Regions from separate parts of the Homo sapiens genome. Here region 1 is linked to region 2. Evidence: promoter capture Hi-C in human tissues and cell types (Jung and others, 2019). All regions are on one chromosome and are shown on one strand. The core of a region is centred on a gene start or on the middle of the fragment in contact, and the rest is flanking DNA. Distances in the headings are between cores, read along the strand shown. Region 1 overlaps DYNLT2B (dynein light chain Tctex-type 2B). Region 2 holds the start of CEP19 (centrosomal protein 19).

Region 1 (3,480 bases), core at 28-2,527, 410 kb before region 2:
CCGGCTAATTTTTGTATTTTTTTGTAGAGACAGAGTTTTGCTGTGTTGCCCAGGCTGGTCTGGAACTCCTGGGCTCAAGTGATCCTCCTGCCTCAGCTTCCCAAAGTGCTGGGATTACAGGTGTGAGCCACCACGCCCGGCCCTGATGGGAAACTTTATAATAGATGGATCCATCTGACAATATCTGAACTCCATGATCAACCTTAACAAAGCAAAAAGAGATGACCAGCTATTTTGTACCTTCTGAGAAGATGCAATAGGATGTATAGAAAACAGTATTTCCCCAACCTCAAACCTATGGCTAATTAAGACTAGATCTAACTACTTATTTTCAAGAAGTACAGGAAATAGAAGACATATTAAACAATACCATAGGTATATAATCAGCAACTGCCAGAATATAGGAAACTCTACAGGACAAACAAACCAATTTCTTCAACAAATAAATGGCAGGAAAAAATAAATAAATAAATAACTGACAGGGCACAGTGGCTCACGCCTGCAATCCCAGCACTTTGGGAGGCCAAGGTGGGTGGATCACCTGAGGTCAGGAGTTGGAGACCAACCTGGCCAACATGGTGAAACCCCATCTCTACTAAAAATACAAAAATTACCTGGGCGTGGTGGTGAGCGCCTGTAATCCCAGCTACTCAGGAGGCTGAGGCAGGAGAATCACTTGAACCCGGCAGGCAGAGGTTGCAGTGAGCCGAGATCATGCCACTGCACTCCAGCCTGGGTGAGGAAGCAAGACTGTCATAAAAATAAAATCAAATGGCAGGATTAAAAGAAGAAAGAGAGAAATGAGGCAGCAAAAACAACACATTGAAGTAAATTTAAAGCCAGATGCTGTGGTGTGCACCTATAGTCCCAGCTACCTGGCAGGCTGAGGTGGGAGGATCACTTGAGCCCAGGAGTTCTAGTCTGTAGTGTGTTATGATCACATCTGTGAATAGCCACTGCACTCCAGCCTGGGCAAGATAGCAAGATCTTACGTCTTAAAAAAAAATCCTAATTTACATATTAACCAAATGCAATGTGTGGACCTTGTTTGAATCTTAATTTGAAAAAATTGTAAAAAGAAAATAATAGGTCTGGCATGGTGGTTCAAGCCTATAAGTCCACCACTTTAGGAGGCCAAGGCTGGTGAATTGCCTGAGCCCAGGAGTTTAAGACCAGACTGGCCAACAGAGTGTGACCCATCTCTGCAAAAAAAAAAAAAAAAAAGAAAGAAAGAAAATTAGCCAGGTGTGGTGGTGCACACCTGCAGTCCCAGCTACTCAGGAGGCTGAGGCAGGAGGATCACTTGAGCCCAGGAGGCCAAGGCTGCAGTGAGTTGTGATAGTGCCATTGCACACCAACCTGGGTGACAAAATGAGACCCTGTCTCTTTAAACAAAAAAAAAAGAAAAGAAAGAAAACACATACATACATATATGAGGCATATCTGAATAATAACAGCATATTTTATGATATTAAGGACTGACAATATTTTAGAGATAATAAAGATATTTTATTTATTTATTTTTGAGACAGAGTCTTACTCTGTCACCCAGGCTGGAGTGCAATGACACGATCTTGGCTCACTGCAACCTCCACCTCCTGCGTTGAAGTGATTCTCCTGCCTCAGCCTCCTGAGTAGCTGGGACTACAAGCGCACGCCATCACACCCGGCTAATTTTTAGTAGAGACGGGGTTTCGCCATGTTGGCCAGGCTGGTCTTGAACTCCTGACCTCAGGTGATCCACCCGCCTCAGCCTCCCAAAGTGCTGAGATTACAGGTGTGACCCATCACACCCGGCCCTTCTCACTCTTGTAAAGGCACTCTTACTGAATTGTCCAAAGGACAGATACCTCATAAGAAATATAGATGACTAAAACAAGAAGGAAAATCCAGCTACTCACAATACTCCTTCACCTCTTTGTTCTCCAATCACTACTTGCACCACCATTTTGTATCGGTCAAATCCCATTTCTAGAAAGAAAAAATAAGGTTATTTATAAGCAAATATGTAGTAAAATTACTTATTGAAGACAAATTTGCCCAGAAATGGACATAAACATTCAATCCACAAGTACTTAATGAATATGGTGGTAAGCTTGGGGGTCAGGAGGACGTGAAGGCAGATCCTAACTATAACTCAGCAAGTGTATAACCTCAGAAAGTAATTTAACTTTTCAGTTTAAGTCTCCCTTATTAAACAGGAATATCAGTACCTACCTCCCAAGATTGTTATAAGGTTAGGTAAGATATAGTAGTATCTTTTTTTTGTTTTGTTTTTGAGATGGATTCTCACTCTGTTGCCCAGGCTGGAGTACAGTGGCACGATCTCAGCTCACCGGCAACCTCTGCCTCCAGGGTTCAAGTGATTCTCCTACCTCAGCCTCCTCAGTAGCTGGGACTACAGGTATGCATCACCACACCTGGCTAATTTTTGTATTTTTAGTAGAAAAGGTGTTTCACCATGTTGCCCAGGCTGGTCTCGAACTCCTGACCTCAGGTGATCCACTCACCTTGGCCTCCCAAAGTGCTGGGATTACAGGCGTGAGCCACCGCGCCCGGTCAGATATAGTAATATCTAAAGCATCTAAACAGTGCTGTTAAATACTAGTCCTTCAATAAACCTTAGCTTCCTTCCTTTTTCCCCTACTATAAGTCAGCTAGTGAGCTGAACCTTCAAGATAGAGAAATAAATAAGACGTTTTTCTTGCCTTAAAGAACTCACAGTAATAAAGAACTCAAAGGAAAATAGAAAAATAGGCCGGGCACGGTGGCTCACGCCTGTAATCCCAGCACTCTCAGAAGGTGAGGCCAGTGGATCACCTGAGGTCAGGAGTTTGAGACAAGCCTGGCCAACATGGTTAAGCCCCGTCTCTACTAAAAAATATAAAAATTAGCCAGGCATGGTGGCAGATCCCTGTAACCCCAGCTACTCGGGAGGCTGAGGCAGGAGAATTGCTTGAACCTGGGAGGCGGAGGTTGCAGTGAGCTGAGATCGCACCATTGCACACTAGCCTGGGTAACAAGAGCAAAACTCCATCTCGAAAAAAAAAAAAAAAAAGAAAATAGAAAAATAAATTATAAATTGAGTATGCTTATAATTCAAGGAGTGGCATGTATGATGTACATCAGGAACACAGAGCCAGTGGGGGCAGTTCCTCTGTTTGTCTGGGCAGTGGCAAGAAATCACTGGAAAAGACTTCTTGGAAGATGTGGCCGGCCAATAAACTGAGTCTTGAGGGCTGAGTAAGAGGGGACCAGGTCAGCCCCATCTCCCCACACGTCCGAGAACGAGGGGCATGTGCACAGCAGGAGAGCATGGGATCTCCAAGAAACTGTAAGCTGTTCAGTAAGACAGACAAGAAAAAAAATGAAGATTCCAGAGCAAAACGAGGTGATCCAGCACCATTTAGCTGTTTACTCCAGAAACTACGTTGCTAAAGCAGCAAAATCCTGAAAATTCTCACTAACACCAAGTCTGAA
Region 2 (3,499 bases), core at 952-3,451:
TTTATAGTATGTTTCATACATACCTTATCATACAAGCTATTTCCTGACGTTCAAATTTAACAACATATATTATTATTTTGTCATCAAATGTTTTACTACAATGTAACATTTTATATGACTGCTAAATGTTTTATTTTATGGATGTACTATAATCATATTATTCACCACTTATTGTTGGGCATGAGAATTTTTACTCTTAGAAAATTAATCACATATAAGCCCAGGCACAGTGGCTCACCCCAGCCAGCACTTTGGGAGGTCAAGGTGGGCAGATCATTTGAGGTCAGGAGTTCGAGACCAGCCTGGCCAACATGGTGAAAACCACGTCTGTACTAAAAATACAAAAATTAGCTGGACATAGTGGCAGGTGCCTGTAATCCCAGCTACTCGAGAGGCCAAGGCAGGAGAATCACTTGAACCTGGGAGGCGGAGGTTGCAGTGAGCTGAGATGGTACCACTGCACTCCAGCATGGGTGACAAGAGCAAGACTCCATCTCAAAAAGATGGAGGCAGGTGTGGTGGCTCAGGCCTGTAATCCCAACACTTTGGGAGGCCAAGGAGAGGAGATACCTTGAGGCCAGGAGTTTGAGACCAGCCTGGGCAACACAGCGAGACCATGCATGTCTCTACAAAAAATTTAAAAATTGGCCAGGCATGGCAGCATGCACCTGTAGTCCCAGCCACACCAAAGGCCAAGGTGGGAGAATCGCCTGAACCCAGGAGTTTGGGGCTGCAGTGAGTTGAGATGGTGCCACTGCACAACAGCCTCTCCAAAGCATGATACGCCTATTCTTAAAAAAAAAAAAAAAAAAAAAAAAAACTACTTTAAAAAATTACTGTGCTCTACCTCTAATCTGATGCAATGAGCTCACACCATTTCTCCTTCTTTTCCTTCTCTTTTCTTGCTTTTTTTTTTTTTTTAACGAATACTATTCCCAATTCACCTAACTAAAATTTGATGTTAGTAAACTACAACCTACGGGGCACATATAAACTCCACACACTGAAGCAATGGCTGTACTCGTCAAAGATGTATGCAGTTGGTACTCAAATAATGTAGTTTTTTTTTTACTAGACTCTTTTTAAAATTTAACTTTAATTTTTGCTAAAGTAATGTTTGTATTTGGAATATAAAATAATTCTATGAGGCTTATAACAACAAACTATCGTCCTTGGCCCTACTCCTCTTCATAGGGAGCCAGACTGAATTTTAAAAGGCATATCTTCCAAAATTTCTCTCTCCATTTCTTAAGAAACATGCTTATACTACCATTTTCAGTTTTTTTTTTTCTTTTGAAACAGAGTCTCCCTCTGTCGCCTAGGCTGCAGTGCAGTGGCGTGATCTCCCCTCGCTGCAACCTCCGCCTCCTGGGTTCAAGCGATTCTCGTGCCTCAGCCTCCCGAGTAGCTGGAATTACAGGTGCCTACCACCATGCCCAGCTAATCTTTGTATTTTCAGTAGAGACGGGGTTTCGCCATCTTGGCCAGGCTGGTCTCGAACTCCTGACCTCAGGTGATTCGCCCAAAGTGCTGGGGCTATAGGCGTGAGCCACCTGCCCGGCTATTTTCAGTTTTGGATAGTATGTTTTGACATACACTCTGTTTCCTCTTTGAGACACCCGCTCTAGAGCCCTCTATTCCACTCCAAGCCGCCTGGATGCTCTCTTGGCCTGCTTACAGATTCCACTCTGTTTAGGAAGAAGGACGGCACGTTTATCCAATTATTCTTCCTGGACACGAATACTCCTCTCCCCAGAGATCAGTAACTGCCCACAATCTTGTTAGGAAGCCCCACAGCACCTAAGGGTACGAATGTCCCCAAAGAGTAGACGATTCTCTCCCTACTCACGTCTCCACTAGTGCAAGGCTGGCTTTCTTACCCTTAGAGGAATACAGAAATGACATCGTCTGCAGGCCAACGTCTAAACAACCAGGAGTGGGTTTTTCCACCCAACCGCAGTGCACGCAAAGCCCCTAAGCCGACTGTGAGACCGGGCGGAGCCTGGCGCTGCAGGAAGAGGCGACAGCCACAGCCCTACTGACGAGCCCGAGGGGTGAACTCCCCGGCGGGAGGCCCGAACCCTCAAACACCGGGAAGCGGAGGTGGGGGCCGGCTGGGGGACCGGTCCACCGGCTCCCACCTCGGCGTACAGGGATTCCAGGTCCCGGCGAGCGCTGGCCTAGCGGTTTCCACAGCGACAGGCCGGGCGCGCGTCCCCGCGCGTGCGCAGCTCCTCGCCCGCCCCCGGGTGGGCGGAGCAAGGAACAGCTGGGCGGGGACGACCGCCCCACGCCGCGCGGGAACCCTTGGGGGCCGGGGCTGCAGGCAGCTGGGAACCGCGGGCGCTAGGCGCGCGCACCCAGCACTCGGTCCCAGCCGATAAATCTGGGGCAGCGCGCGGTAGGAGCTGCGGGCGGCCAGGCCCCTTCCTGCGTCCGCACCTGGCCCCGCGCGCCCCTCTCGGGCGTCCGGCTTCCGGCGTCCTGGCGGCTCGGGTGGCGGCGGTTCGGGCGGCCGCCTGGCTGCTCCTCGGGGCGGCGACCGGGCTCACGCGCGGGCCCGCCGCGGCCTTCACCGCCGCGCGCTCTGACGCCGGTAAGGGGGGCGGGGCTTGGGGGGCCAGAGCGTGGGAGCGGTCCCGGCTCCCGGGCCTCTCGGCGGGTTGCGGGGATGTGGGGACCCGGCGCGGGACCTAGATCAGTAGGGCGAGCCGGAGGAGGTCAGACACTAGAGCCGTGTGCCCTCCTTCCCTCCCGTGCGCTTTGCTCTGCGGCGGATCCCGGGTCTCCGGGAGAGTCGGGCTCGGGCCCTGCGGTTCCCAGGCTGGACTGGCCGCCCTGTTACTAAAGTTCTGAGAAGGAAAGTCAGCCGTCAAGCGTCTTGGGATGCTCTTGAGCTGCACGAAGCTTCTGATCACCAAGGGGCCAGGCAAGGCCTTAGCGCCCTGTGAGGCCTGAGAATCCCCAAACTGAATGTAGGACTCCGTGGCAAACTGCTAGTTGTTCGTGCAAGTAGTAGTTGGCAAACTGCTTGTACTACTGAGACGGGCAAGTGCGGGAATAATTACAATAAAGGGTAAGGTTTGATGGGAGGAAAGCACAAACCCTACAAGTTTCTCCATCTGTAAAATGAGGATGTTTCTGTCATCCTTGGTATCATTTAGATCCGTTTAGTATCTGTCAATCAGTGCAGTTCTGCTTGTGTGTTTACATATTGGGTTTTCAAGTTTATCTAAACAAAGGATTATGAGGCCAAGAAGATTTTTTTTTTGAGATGGAGTCTCACTCTGTTGCCAGGCTGGAGTGCAATGGCGCGATCTCGGCTCACTGCAACCTCCGCCTTTCCCAAGTTCAAGCAATTCTTCTGCTTCAGCCTCCCAAGTAGCTGGGATTATTACAGGTGCCCGCCACCATGCCCAGCTAATTTTTTGTATTTTTAGTAGAGACGGGGTTTCGCCGTATTGGTCAAGCTGGTCTTGAACTCCTGACCTCAGGTGGT

What was found. The method cuts DNA at HindIII sites, captures the fragments that hold promoters and counts their contacts. A contact is called where the count stands out against the background at its distance.
Region 1: a contact is called between a fragment that was not itself captured here and the fragment with the promoter of CEP19 in region 2, in 3 of the 25 tissues and cell types used here (IMR-90 fibroblasts, bladder and small bowel).

What each region holds. Positions count from the first base shown.
Region 1 is chr3:196,305,042-196,308,521 of GRCh38, forward strand. It overlaps DYNLT2B (dynein light chain Tctex-type 2B), which reads right to left. Exons shown (of 5, transcript NM_152773.5): 3 at 1,902-1,971. Among named protein-coding and RNA genes, the nearest start is that of DYNLT2B, 11 kb to the right of the region's middle. The HindIII fragment of the contact is 6,550 bases long and covers 1-3,480 here.
Region 2 is chr3:196,710,049-196,713,547 of GRCh38, forward strand. CEP19 (centrosomal protein 19) reads right to left here and starts at 2,202. Exons shown (of 3, transcript NM_032898.5): 1 at 1,881-2,202. It overlaps PIGX (phosphatidylinositol glycan anchor biosynthesis class X), which reads left to right and starts at 2,329. Exons shown (of 6, transcript NM_017861.4): 1 at 2,329-2,596. The coding sequence starts at 2,485. RefSeq lists silencers at 1,952-2,264, 2,099-2,728. The HindIII fragment of the contact is 13,108 bases long and covers 1-3,499 here.